Regions from separate parts of the Homo sapiens genome. Here region 1 is linked to region 2. The links are contacts of gene promoters, found by promoter capture Hi-C in blood cells and fetal thymus (Javierre and others, 2016). All regions are on one chromosome and are shown on one strand. Each heading gives the region's core, a stretch centred on a gene start or on the middle of the fragment in contact. The rest is flanking DNA. Distances are from core to core; before and after follow the strand shown.

What was found. Contacts are between HindIII fragments. The CHiCAGO score rates a contact against its expected background, and 5 or more counts as called.
Region 1: a fragment that was not itself captured here is called in contact with the fragment with the promoter of CPNE5 in region 2 in 17 of 17 cell types (activated CD4 T cells, erythroblasts, endothelial precursors and 14 more); the score reaches 13.4 in activated CD4 T cells.

Annotation. Positions count from the first base shown.
Region 1 is chr6:36,722,456-36,729,649 of GRCh38, reverse strand. It overlaps RAB44 (RAB44, member RAS oncogene family), which reads right to left. Exons shown (of 14, transcript NM_001257357.2): 9 at 6,917-7,194; 10 at 3,707-3,788; 11 at 1,959-2,073; 12 at 849-950. Among named protein-coding and RNA genes, the nearest start is that of RAB44, 28 kb to the right of the region's middle. RefSeq lists enhancers at 2,852-2,991, 4,750-4,809. The HindIII fragment of the contact is 9,710 bases long and covers 521-7,194 here.
Region 2 is chr6:36,837,875-36,844,895 of GRCh38, reverse strand. It overlaps CPNE5 (copine 5), which reads left to right and starts at 5,452. Exons shown (of 21, transcript NM_020939.2): 1 at 5,452-5,613. The coding sequence starts at 5,519. RefSeq lists an enhancer at 3,544-4,094 and a silencer at 4,779-4,988. The HindIII fragment of the contact is 11,867 bases long and covers 3,939-7,021 here.

The DNA.
Region 1 (7,194 bases), core at 4,126-6,625, 120 kb after region 2:
TTAGCCGGGCGTGGTGGCACATGCCTGTAATCCCAGCTACTAAGGAGGCTGAGGTGGGAGAATCGCTTGAACCCGGGAGTCGGAGGTTGCAATGAGCCAAGATCGTGCCACTGCACTCCAGCCTGGGTGACAGAGCAAGATTCCATCTCAAAAAAAAAAAAAAGAAAGAAAGAAAGAAAAAAAATTCCCTTCCAGCAGGAGCCACAATGATGACCTCACAATTTACGGGAAGTGGGAAGAGAAACAGGAAGGAAATACAGTAGGAAGATGCCAAGAGGGGTTGTGTGAGAGGTGGGGCGAGGAGTGATTTTTCCCTCTATTTTTATTACTCTCCAGATTTTCTGGAATGTGGTTAAATGCCATTCATGAATAGATAGTGTTCACTGTCTGGCAGTGGGGCTTTTGATGTAATCATCCCAAGGGAGAATTTGAGTCTTAAAATAGGAGAACTTAGAAGGCAGCACGTTAATTAGAGACCAGAGATAAAATTAAAATTTGATTGGGAATTTTAAGCAAAGCTTTCAAAACCTTTTTACTCTGAAGCTATTTCTTATGTAGGTGGGGACATGGTGTGGGAATGTGCTAATTCAACAGTGAGGTTCAGTGTCACGCCCGCCACTCCAGCCTTGGGTTTGGGCTTAAAGCGCATCTCCAGAGGCCAGGGCTGTGTGGGAGGCAGAGGTGGCTAGGCTGCTGTCCACTCTGAACAGGCCTTTGGTTGGGGCAGGGGCAGGAATGGGCCACGGGTTCTTCTCGGCTGCCCAGGTCAGGTGATGCCTATCCACCACCTGCCAGGGAGGTGTCTGCCCAGTCCACGCACAGAGACGGGCTGATGCCCAAGTGCTTACCTGGGCCAGTTGCTGCCCAGCTTCCACGGACACTTGCCGTTCCTCCTCACAGTCCATCTTGTTTCCCAGGAGAAGGATGACCACCCCATCCGACCCTGCATCCTGCACACAGAACATGTTCTGTCAGCCACACCCACTGTGTGCCAGGCTCCTGGCACATTTGCCTTCCTAGAAGCTGAACTGTGTCCCCCGCATGTTCCCCCTCCCAGGCCACATCCACTCCATAACCTTCTCACCTGGACCCTTTCCCCCATCCTTCCTCTCTGCTGATAAACATCTCACTTATTTTCCAAGGCCAACCTTAAGAACACCTCCCCCAGGAAGCCTTCCTGGGTTGTTCCTGCCCATGTCCTCTCTTCCTGCCTGTTCTGAACAGTCCAGCACTTGATTATACATTTTCCCAATTGTCTCATGAATAATAATAATAGTTTCTGATTAGTGAGTGATTGCTATACACCAGGTGCTGTGCTGAAAGCAATTCTATCAATTAATTGTCACAACTCCCCTATGAGAGAATTCCAGAAATTGAAGTTCAGAGAACTCAATTCACTTGTCCAAAGTCACAGAGTTCGGGTGGGTGGGATTCAAATGTAGGTCCTGTCAGACCCCAGTGCTCAGCTCCCCTCTTCACACATTACCTTATCCTGCTTCTTTTGCTAAACTAGAAACTTCCAGAGAGAAGGCAACATGGCTAACTTCACACCCCTCTGCTGTGCTAGTACACACTGCAGAATTTCAGTATATATGCTTTGAGGAAGTAAGCAGGGGAAAAACTAGAGATGTGTGAACAGAGGAATTACCACATGGAATGGCACAAGAACTACATTAGCCTCAAGTGTAAGAAGAAGACATTACAAACAGCTGCCATATGTAGGAAGAGAATGTTCACAGGATAAAGGAAGTAGTTTGGTTTGAAGTCTGTACTATGTGGTTGTGGTTTCTTTGTACTACTGCATTCCCAGCTCATCCAACCACATGCCCTCAGTGGGTGGTGTCACCCATATGTCTGTCATGTCATTTGTAATCCTGGGAGAAAAGAGGGAGTGGGCAGGATATAAGATCCCTCTTGACTGGAGGGACTGGGGCCAACCCCAGCAGCCATCTGCTCACCTGGAGACAGTCTAGCCAGTAGCGCACGTGGGCAAAGCTCTCCTGGGAGGTGATGTCGTACATGAGCACCACCCCGTCAGCCTTGCGGAGCAGCTGTCGCGTCATACTGTGGTACCTGCCCAGAGAGTCTGCATGAGGCCACACCAGGCATCCAGACCCCAGGCCCTGGCCTCTGCAAAGTGGGAGAAGTAACCTATCCTACTTCTAATTGCTTCCCACAGAGCATGTCCGTATGCTTTTCTTCGTACAGTGTAGTTATTGTTGACTAGGTAACAGTTCTCATGGCTCAAATTTCAAAAGGTCTCAAGGAGAACTCAATGAAAAGTCTCCTTCCTTCTGCCCCATCCTGGAGCCACCCAGTCCCCCTCCCCAGAGGCAACCAGGGTTATCAGTTTCTTAAATATTTTTCCAGAGGCATTTTACGTATATACATATATATACACACACATATATACACCCATACACATACATCTTTCCCCCTCTATTTTATACAAATACAGTGTAAAACATTCATCATACTCATTAATATTCAGTGTTCTGCATTTTGTTTTTTTCCAGTTAACAGGATGTCTTGGAGAAATTTCCCTATCGGGCTGGGCACGGTGGCTCACGCCTGTAATCCCAGCACTTTGGGAGGCTGAGGCAGGAGGATCACTTGCGGTCAGGAGTTCCAGATCGGCCTGGCCAACATGGTGAAACCCTGTGTCTACTAAAAATACAAAAATTAGCTGGATGTGGTTGTATGTGTCTGTAGTCCCAGCTCCTCAGGAGGCTGAGGCACAAGAATCACTTAAGCCCTGGAGGTGGAGATTGCAGTGAGCTGAGATCACACCACCACACTCCAGCCTGGGTGACAGAGCAAGACTCTGTCTCAAAAAAAAAAAAAAAATCCCTATTAGTACATAAAGAGAGTCCTCAGTCTTTGTGTGGCTTTATGGTGTTATACTGGGTAGATTGACCCTCCTTTATTTAACTGGTCCCCTATTGATGGACATTTAGGTTGTTTCCTATGTTTCATAACACAAGTGAGAATACTATGACTGGTCCTGGTCCCTTTGTTATTATAGTCATATGAGTCTATTTATAGAATGAATTTCTAGAAGTGGAACTGCAGAATCAAATAAGATATGCCTTTTAAGTTTTTATCACTGCCAGGTGCCGTGGCTCATGCCTGTAATCCCAGCACTTTGGGAGGCCGAGGCAGGTAGATCACGAGGTCAGGAGTTCGAGACCAGCCTGGCCAATATGATGAAACCCCATCTCTACTAAAAATACAAAAATTAGCTGGATGTGGTGGTGGGCACCTGTAGTCCCAGCTACTCAGAGGCTGAAGCAGGAGAATCGCTTGAACCCGGTAAGTGGAGGTTGCAGTGAGCCCAGATCACGCCACTGTACTCCAGCCTGAGCAATACAGCGAGACTCCATCTCAAGAAGAAAAAAAAATTTTTGATCACTACTGCCTAGGTTGAAAGTAGAAGACCAGCATTTTTAGAAGGACAGGTGATTGGGTGGCTGTCCCCTAATGACCATGTTGGGAAGCCCTAATATATGCCCTGCCAGGCTGAGGGACCTCTGGCTCTGCTGCCCTCTCTCCCCTGCCTTGGGCTTGACTCATCTCTCCTTCCCTGACCTCCTGAATCCTTGGGGGGCAGTTGCCTCCTGCCTGTGTTATTAGGGCTGCTCCCTGTCCCTCTGCACCCCTACGCTCAGCCTAGGTTCCTGACACACTGATATACAGTGCCTGTTACCTCTCTTGGCCAGCTGTGTCCCAGAGCTGCAGCACAAAGCACTTGTTGTCCACCAGCAAGGTTTTGACCCGAAAATCTACTCCTAGGACACATAGAGAGGGGTGAAGCCTACTAAGTTACCATCCAGGACTCCTAGCCAAGGCCTACCCCAGTATACACCTGTCCCCTGTACCAGCTGCGGTGCGATGGAGCCCTTGGCTGCCGGGCTTCCCCTCGGCTCTGCATCCCATCCATACTCGAGGACCCACTTCCTCCAAGAAGCCTTCCCAGACCTCCCTGCCGCAAGTTGTGCCAACACAGGGCACCTTGTCTATGTTGTTCATTCCTTAGGCCACCCAGAATATAAGTTTCATTATTTTATTTTTACAGTACTCTTTGTTCCATTCCCTAATTATTGCATGCACTTTCCTCTCTTAACGAGACAGCAGGGGAGACAAGGAGCCCAGAGGGGCAGAAGGAATGCTGGCTTCAGGCAACTGTTACACTGGTTACAGGACCTCAGGCAAGTCACTTCACCTCTGTGAGCCTCTCTTTCCTTGTCTGCAAAGTGGCAAATTAGAAAGACCTACACTGCAGAGTGGCTGGAGGATTAAAATGCTGTTTTAAAAGGCGTGGTGACACATGCCTGTAATCCCAGCTACTCAGGAGGCTGAGGCAAGAGAATCACTTGAACCCGGGAGGCGGAGGTTACAATGAGCCGAGATCGCGCAGCTGCACAATCTTGTTGCCTGGGCAACGAGAGTGAAACTCCATCTCAAAAAAAAAAATGCTGTTTTAAGTGACCCAGAGAGCATGCAATTCTGAACTGAAAAGAGGATAAAACTTCTGGTGTGGAGGCAGGGCTTTTAAGGTAGGTGGCCTTAACTTTGGGGGCCCAGCTAGGGCAAGAAACTGAACCAGGTCTTCAATTCTCTGCTTTCCTCATCTGTAAAATGGGGATAGATATGGAAAATGTACATTCAAATATAACTCCGTTGGCTCTGATTCTCTATCTGGTCCCGTCCTCAAATGCAGGCAGGGTAGAGTTCTTATTTTGTGAGGTGGGGGAGCAGGAATGGAGGGAAGGTGACACTAGGTAGGGAAATATTGACCTATGAAGGCAGGATCATTTCCTGTGGTATTTAAACCAGAAAAGACGATAGCCACCGGGGGGCAGCAAACCATAGCTTGGGATTGGGACAGATCTGGACCAAGCACTTGGATCTCAGGTACTCCCAGCAGGCTAGCAGTGCATGCCGGCTTGCCTGGTTGGTTGGTTGGTTGGTTGGTTGGTTGGTTGGTTGGTTGGTTGATTGGTTGGTTGGTTTCACGATTATGCAGCTGTGTTTTTCTTGATTGAATTTTGTGAGAACTTCTTACCACATAATAAAGGAGGAGGCTCCATTCTAAGGAAGGCTGTTGTAAGGAATAAGACATGTATGGAAGATGCCTAGTGCATGGGAGGTGGTCAGTAAACAGTAGCTTAGGTGACTAATAATGGTAGCCTTGGCCAGGCACAGTGGCTCACGCCTGTAATCCCAGCACTTTGGGAGGCTGAGGCGGGCAGATCACCTGAGGTCACCAGCCTGGCCAACGTGGTGAAACTTCATCTCTACTAAAAGTACAAAAATAAGCCAGGTGAAGTGGCACACACCTGTAGTCTCAGCTACTTGGGAGGCTGAGGCAGGAGAATCACTTGAACCCAGGAAGCAGAGGTTGCAGTAAGCAGAAATCGTGCCACTGCACTGGAGCCTGGGTGACAGGGCGAGACTCCATCTCAAAAAATAAATAAATAAATAAATAAATAAATAAATAAATAAATAAAATAAAATAATGGTAGTGTTGTAGAACCTGTGACCCCACTCAACATCAGGCCAGCCTGCTATAGGTTTCCTCTTCCCGAGGGAACTGCATTTCTAACTAGCTCCCAGGTGAGGCTTCTTGGGCAAGAAAAGTTTGAGAACCTGCCCCAGGCCTCTCTTGTGGGGGGCTGTCATTTACCGACTGGTCTGGCTCTGATCCCCAGTCGGCATGTGCCCTGGTCTAATACAAAGACAGGCGTGACTTCTTTGTCCCTAGGTGGGTCTCCCCTCCATTCCCTCGGGTTTGCTTTTTTTTTTTTTTTTTTGGGAGACGGAATCTTGCTCTGTCGCCCAGGCTGGAGTGCAGTGGTGCGATCTCGACTCACTGCAAGCACCGCCTCCTGGGTTCACGTCATTCTCCTGCCTCAGCCTCCCGAGTAGCTGGGACTACAAGCAACCGCCACCATGCCCGGCTAATTTTTTGTATTTTTAGTAAAGACAGGGTTTCACTGCGTTAGCCGGGATGGTCTCGATCTCCTGACCTTGTGATCCGCCCGCCTCAGCCTCCCAAAGTGTTGGGATTACAGGTGTGAGCCACTGCGCCCGGCTGGGTTTGCTTTTCTGTAGCTCTGTACAGGGTTCAGTGGCCACATATCCTGATACTTTTAGGGAGGGAAGGCTCTCTGCTTTCGGCCATTTCTTGCAGGAGCCACTGAGTTAGACATGATCAAATATTTACTTATAATAATAATAACAACCATAATAACTAATACTTACTGAGTACTCACTACATGTCAGTTATGATTCTAAGATCTTGACATATTAACTAGTCCTCAACCACTCTAGGAAGGCAGCACTACTGTTGTCCCCATTATGCAGATGAGGATTTGGGGGTTCAAAAGGGTTAAATCATTTGTCCAAATTCAGACCCTAATAAGTGGCAGGGCTAAGATTTGAACTCAGGCACCTGGCTTCCTAATTTACCACACTCTACAAATACATTCTGTGTAAAATATCCAACTTGCCCAAGGTGACTTCTTGCCAGACCATGGCTGCCCAGCCTGGAGCTAGTCATGAGCAAATCCAACCAGCACAGAACCTGCTCTGGCCTGCCCATGGGCCACATGAGTGGATACTTGCTTGTTTTCACCATCAACTCTCGCAGGCACCTAAATTGCAGGGTGCATTGTTGATGTGGCACCTTATAAGCTAATCAGATCAATGCAGAAAAAACAAATTACCTGTAATTAGAGACGATTAGTGAAATAGTAAGGTTATGCCCATATAAAACAATGTCTAATGCAGGGCCCGTGGCCAGGGCAGAACCTGCAGCTTCCTCAGGGAGGGCTTGGTCTGGGCCCGCTCTCACTCGTTGGCCCTGGCCCCTGCGTCTCTCCTTGCTCCCTGCCGCCCTCCCCAATGCCCTTACCCACGGTAGCTGTCAATCCGGTGGCGAAAGAATTCTGGTGCAGCAGGTGCAGGAAGGATGTTTTGCCCACGTTGGAGTCTCCCAGAAAGATGACATGGAAGAGGTAATCAGGGTTGGCCTGGGGTCCCCCTCCAGCCATGGGGTCTCCCGGGGATGGGGTCAGCCCAGCTTCCCTGGAGTCCATTCCTGGATCTTCAAGCCTGCTCTCTGCCCTTGGTTCCCTGGAGTGAGGCGGGCCTTGTTCTTCTGCGTGAGCAGTCGTGAGGGATGGCCTGGGT
Region 2 (7,021 bases), core at 4,203-6,702:
AAGGTTGCATTTACCCACAGTAGAGAATGCCTTTTTCTAGTTTGTTCTAGGTGCAGCATGGGCAGCCCTACTTTCCTGTCCCCTGCACAACCCCGCTTCTGCTCTTCTGTGCCCTTTTCTCCCACCATCCCCAGCCTCAAACGGGGAGAGGAGGGCAGCATTTACAAGTAGTGCTTTGGGAGGGGTGAGGGGACAGCAGCTGTCTCTTCTGTGAGGAGCTCTGCCCCCTAAGCCCGGTGGTGCTTTTCCCCTCCTTATCAATGCTGTGAGTTGCCTCTCAAAATTGCTCTGCCGTCATTAACACCGTGGATTAGGTCAGATGAGAGCATGTTTGCAGTCTTGGATGGCAAAGGCAAAACGCTGATGCTGATTATTCCAGATCTTCTGGGCATGGCCCATTCCGTGCTTGACGTTCTTAATCAGAGGGACGAGTGGTAGTTATGTGGCGGGTGGGCCAGGGCCATGGTTGTTTCTAATCTGGCTGCCAGGCACAGACGGCACGTCTGCAGCACCTGCCAGCCCACGCACTGGCCTGCCTGGACATCACAAGTGACCAGGGTTACTCGGCACTATCATATCTCTCAAAGAAGAAACAACTCCTCCAACGGCAACATCTGTGGGGCTGCTTTTGAACTATCAGCAATTCATTTGAGCAAGAGCTGGGAGCATTTTTCCCCTGGGCCTGATCAGTAAGTTGCTTTTTTTTGTTTTTTGTTTGTTTGTTTGTTTTCTTTTGTTTGTTTGTTTGTTTGTTTTGTTTTGCTTTTTGAGACAGAGTCTCACTCTGTCGCCCAGGCTGGAGTGCACTGGCGCAATCTCAGCTCACTACAACCTCCACCTCCCAGGTTCAAGCAATTCTCCTGCCTCAGCCTCCTAAGTAGCTGGGATTACAGGCCCGCACCACCACGCCAGGCTAATTTTTTTTGTATTTTTAGTAGAGACAGGGTTTTGTCATGTTGGCCAGGCTGGTCTCAAACTCCTGACATCAGGTGATCCACCTACCTCAGCCTCCCAAAGTGCTGAGATTACAGACTTGAGCCACTGCACCCAGCTCCTGATCAGTAAGTTTTACGTTCTGGTTGGCCATGCAGCGGGAGGGTGTCCTTCAGACCACCCCTCCTCCAGTGTCCCCTTCTGAAAAGCCTCTGTGCCCAGCGGAGGCTGTGGCCTTGCATCATGGCCCATCGCCTCCTGGCCTCATATTCTACCTCCACCAACCCTGACCCTGTGCTCCAGCCACACTACAGCCCCCAGTCGCAGATCTCTGGCCCTTCCTCATGCTAGTCCCCTGCCAGGAATGCCTGCACAGCCTTGTCCTCCAGGCAGAAGCTCATCATCTGTAGCAGCCGCTGCCTTGCCAGTGCCCACTGCAGCCTCTAACTTTTCCCACTTCAGTGTGCTCCAGTCCCACACCCGACTGCCTTTCTTTGCCTAAGGCTTTCTCTGGCTTCTGGAACCTGCATTGGCCTCTCTGTGCTGGTTAGGCCAGAAGTGCCAGGAAATTAATACCCTCCAAAAGCAGCCCTCAGCCACTGAGCCAATGACTGGCAGAAGTTGGTATAAACATATCCCAGCTTCCTCACCCCTCTGGCAGCCTAAGTTTGAAATGCGTTCTACAGTCTCCCAGAGTTCTGCAGCAGGACTATACCCTAGTTGCCTGTAGTGATGACTGGCTTGATAAAGCACCTTTTATTGTCTACCTTCCCTTCCCCGTCTCACCTCTGCCCTCATGAATGGATTAATGCCCTTATGAAAGGCATTATCCCTGAGCTAGGCCCCTTTTTGCCCTTCTGCCTTCCACCAAGTGAGGAAGTGTTTGCCCCTCTGGAGGACACAGCAACAAGGACCATCTTGGAAGCAGAGACCTGGCCCTCACCAGACACCATACCTGCCGGCACCTTGATCTTGAACTTCTCAGCCTCCAGAAGTGTGAGAAATACATTTCTATTATTATTAAATTACTCAGGCTAAATAATTTTGTTATAGCAGCAGGAACAGACCAAGACACCTCCCAAATGTACTACTCACATACAAATCTTTGTCTCAGGGTCAGCTTCTAGGGGAAACAAACTTCTAAGACATCACCTCAATGTCCATCTCAGTATCACTTCCTTTTTGCAGTTTCCCCTGACCCTGACCCTCCCTTCTTCCTGTTCCTGGGGCAGAACCATTGGTCACTCTTCTCCCAGAGCCGTTTTTTTGTTTTTTTTTTTTTTTGAGATGGAGTCTCGCTCTGTCGCCCAGGCTGGAGTGCAGTGGTGCGATCTCGGCTCACTGCAACCTCTGCCTCCCAGGTTCAAGCAGTTCTCCCACCTGAGCCTCCCAAGTAGCTGGGATTACAGGCACCTGCCACCAGGCCCAGCTAATTTTTTTGTATTTTTGGTAGAGACGAGGTTTCACTATGTTGGCCAGGCTGGTCTCAAACTCCTGACCTCAAGTGATCCATCTGCCTCAGCCTCCCAAAGTGCTGGGATTACAGGCGTGAGCCACTGTGCCCGGCCTCCCAGAGCCCTTTCTACCTACCTCAACCGCATTCCTCATGCTGCACTGTGGTTTCTCTCTCTTCATGTCCTGGGGCTCCCAGTAGCCTGGGAACTCTTTGGGGATAGATACTGTGTCCTTTTTGCCTTTTATTCTCTGAGCCTAGGACTGCACCCAGCACACAGCATGTGTCATATATATACATTTTTTTCTTTTTTCTTTTTCTTTTCTTTTCTTTTCTTTTTTCTTTTTCTTTTTTTTTTTTTTTTTTTTTGCCAAATAGCCAGCAGTGAAAGTGCAACGACTAAAAGGGAATGGAGTGACACAGACAAGTGTCTACAAGAGACCCTGGGGCTGCTACTCCAAATGCTGTCACTTTGCAAGGTTACTGGGTAGAACTTCAATCTTACTACTCACCTGCTCAACAACCTGCAATGGCTCCCTATTGTTGCCTTTCCCAACAAGGCCTCATTTCATGGATGATTTTCCATCGTCTGGCCCTATCCTAAAAGAGAGTGGAGCCTCTTGCTCAGAGTCAGGCTTTGGTCTCAACTGCCTTGTTTCACATTCTCACTATGCCAGTCCCCAGCTGGGTGATGATGAGTAAGTTACTTAGCCTCTCTGGGCACTGGCTTCCTTACTTATTAAATGTAGATAATATTAGGTTGGTGCAAAGTAACTGCAGCTTTTCCCATTAAAAGTAATAATATCTCACTTATAAAATTATTTTGAGAATTTAAAATCATGCACGGTCCCTGTGAATATGCTACAAACCGCTGATTTATACAACTTAAAATGGTAATTTTATGGTATGTGACTAATATTTCAAAAAAAAAAAGTAAGCATGGTGTCTGGCCCAGATCTTTGAAAATAAAACGATGCTAATTATTGTTATGAACAAGGTTTCCCAAGGCCCTGTCACTGGGCCAGGCACACAGCAGATGCTCAGTAAACACTCCTGGAATGAATGGAGAACATATTCCACAAGCATGCTTTGAGCATTGTTTATGCCAGGTATGTGGGGGATGGGGAACATAGAGATTCCGAGTTCAGTTTTGCATCCTCAGGAAGGGAAGACAGAATTATTCTCCTTGGAGTGGGGCCTCCTGACCCAGCTGTGCCTGGCTGTCAGGGGAATTAACAGCCTCTGTCCCTTGCTGCCTGTTCCAGGAGGCAGAACCCAGTCCAGCTGATTCTGAGCCATGGGGAAATTGTAACAGGCAGAGGAATGTGTTCTTGTATTTATCTTTGACTGACAGTATCTGATGTTCCAGGAATTGACTTCAAACAGAATCCGGAGGAGCCCCTTATGGTCCCGCTGCCACAAACAAGGCCCAGAGAGCGCAACTCTGCCCAGCCCAGCACCAGGTTTTTGGCCTCCCCGCCGGCCCGAGGCACATCGGCTTCGATGTGCCAGGCGGTGGGCGAGGAAGTGGAGGTTCCAGCTCGGCAAAGCTTAGGCTGAGGCTGAGGATGGGCTAGAGTCAAGTCTACGTGTGCAGCCTTACTCAGGGAGACGCCTCTGCGCTGCAACCTCATGCCCGGGAGGGCAAGGCTGGGCTAGGGCGGGGGATCGCGAGGGGCTTGGCTGGGAAGAGGACTGCAGGAGAGGTGTCCCAACTCTCCCCTCGCTCGCCAGGCACACAGCACGCGCCTACTCGGTGCTGGCTGCATAGAAGCCCAGGGAGCTCGGGCCGATCTCCCAGTCTGGTTGCCACCAGACTGGGTGGCAGGAGCTTCTAGACCTGGAGGCTGGCTCAGTCGTGTGGTCACGACGGGCGGGGGAGTGGAAGGGCGCTGGCGCGTGGTTTCGGCAGCCGACTTGGCGAGGCCGCGGCTGGCGGGAACCACGGATGGGGGAGGCGCCCATGCACCGACCCCACCTGGGCCACTGGGAAACCGAGGTAGTCCCTCCTGGCACTGGGGTCGCCCCCACACACCTCCCCAGAAGGAGATGTAGGGTCTGTTTCTGAACTGAGACCCGCCCCCGAGTAGGGCGCACACTCAGCAGAGACCCTCCACACCCAAGCCCCTGGGAGGGGATCTTTTTTGCACACCTCCCTCCCACTTATGCCCCCTCTCAACCCTGCATAGACCTTTCTCAAAAAGGCGCCCGTTGGTTCCCATAACCCTCCCCCTCCCCCAGGATGGAGACCCCTGATGGGAGATAGGGGTGGTGAGAGGGGGCGGGCGCAAATGAAGATGCGCGCGACCAGGACCACCTCTTGCTGTCACCCGCCACGTCCCCAGCATCTGGACCGCGTCCCCCGGCCCGCCACGCGCGCACACACACACACACGCGCACACACACACGCTCACACTCACCCTGCGCGCAGACCCCGCCCGCGGCCCCGCCCCGGCCCCTGCGGGCGCCCCCTCTGGCGTTCCCGGGCGGCGGGAGGCTGCGGCTTCGGGCAGATTTGATTTTCCCGCAGCCCGGGCGCCCCGGAGCCGAAGCCCGAGCCGAGGAGGTGGCGCTCGCAGCCGCGTCTCAGCCCCGTCGCCGCCGGCGCCAAGACCCAGGGAGAGGCGGCGCAGCCCGGGCGCTCGGGCTCCGCGCTGCCGGCGCCCCGCCACCCCCGCCGCCAGCGCCCCATCCGGCGCCTCCCGCTCCTCACGCCCCTCTCCCTGTCTTCTGCATCCCCTCTACCTCTGCCCACAGACGCGCGTCCCTCTCCTGGTGCCCCTCTCCACGACTCCGCGTTTCCCTCCCGGTGCCCTCTCCCCGAGCCCCTCTCCCCGCGCCCCTCTCTGCCTTCCCCGCTGTGCCCCCGCTCCCTGGGCTCCTTGCCCTTCCCCACTGGGCCCCTAGCCTCCTCGCGGCGTCACCCGAGCCCCCTCCTCGATCCGCGGCCCCCGCTCCCTCCGCCCTCTTCCCTCTCTCACTTCCCACGCCCCCTCTTCGCGCTCCTCTCTCCTCCCCTTGCCGCCCAGCCCAGGCTCTGGAGTTGGGGGAGAGCCCAGGGCTCCAGTCGCTCCGGAGGAGGCGTGAATCGCGCAGGGATTGACTAATTTGGGGTGGGGGGTGCGGTGGGCGATGGAGCAGCCTGAGGACATGGCGTCGCTGAGCGAGTTCGACTCCTTGGCGGGCAGCATCCCGGCCACCAAGGTGGAGATCACCGTGTCCTGCAGGTGAGCCTCCCGCTGGCCGGGTCCCCTTGCCCCGGCCCTGGACGCAGAGCCCCGCGGCCCCTGCCGCTTCGATCCTAAACCTCCGCGCGCCCCCTTCCCAGAGTGTCCTGGTCTCCAGGACTGCGCCCCTGCCGATCTGCCAAGAGCCCCTGTCCTGTCCAGCTGCGGGTGGCGACGGCAGAATAGGAAGCCAGGCTGGGGTCATATCCCAGAAAGTTTGCGCTCCAGGCTGTTGCATCGAGGAGATATGAAGACACAGGAACAGGGGGTCCAGGCACCCAAGTGGGGAGAGGGAGTTGGTAAAAGGCTGTACTACGGTCTCTGCTCAGGCTATCTCTGATCACCCCATCCCCAAATCACGAAGTGAGTGATTTGCCCCCATCCCTCCCAGGCTCGTCCACCCTCTCCCTTCTGTGCCCTCCTCTCTTCTCTCTTTGCCCCTTCTTTGCCCCAGCATCCTGATCCTCCCCTCACCAGTCTCCCCCACCCCACTGTCCTAGACTCTAGGATTTTAAAGCCTTCCTTCATCTCTATCAACAACGAAATCGACTCCTGGAAAAGGATCAGATTGACTCATTCATACTAAGGTGTGGATACATGATAACAACTTAAAGTGGCACCATTAAAAAAATAACTTGGGTCAAAAATCTTAAGCCAAAGGAATAGAACACTGATTGTGAAACTGTAGAGTCCAACAGAGGAGGAGGGGGAATATTTTTGTGGGCTACCACGCCCAAATCTTCACTCATGTCACACAGGGTTTGGGGGTAACTTCTCTGTCTAAGAGCTGGGTCGACCCCAGGTTCTCCTAGCTAGGGGAAGGCTGCCCCTGGCAGTAAGAGGGTATGGGTGGCAAAGGGGGATTTTTCCCTAGTTCAGTCTCTCTGTGGCTGGCCTAGGATCATGTGCTGCCACGCAAGCATCACCCACTTTGAGGTTCCCCCACAGAGGCCATGCCCCCTGCCCCAGATCACCGACAGCATTTCTGGAGCCCTGGCTGTGCCCTTGTTCGAAATCACCCATCTCATCCTCTTCCAGGTTGCTCCTTGGTCAGACCCTCCATGAGAGGTAACCTTGTTGCCCCCCAGTCCTGTATTACAAAGTTGTGGCATTGATGAGGTGTAGGTAGAGCTGGAGAGTCTGGGCAGGGGCGTGAAGGAGGGAAGGACTCAGTGTGACTTTCTCTTGAAGACTTGGGGATAAGTGGCAGTGAAGGCTAGTCTGGTTGAACGTAGCTTCCCCCCTAAGCCAGGCCCTCTGGGGGCTCCTGTGATAGCTCCCAGGTCCCATACACCATGCCGTCAGGATCATCTCCCAACGCCATTTGCATCTTGTCATTACTCTGCTGGGAGATTCCTGATGGCCCATTAGCTCCAGTCTCACCTCCTCAGCCATCAAAAGCAGCACG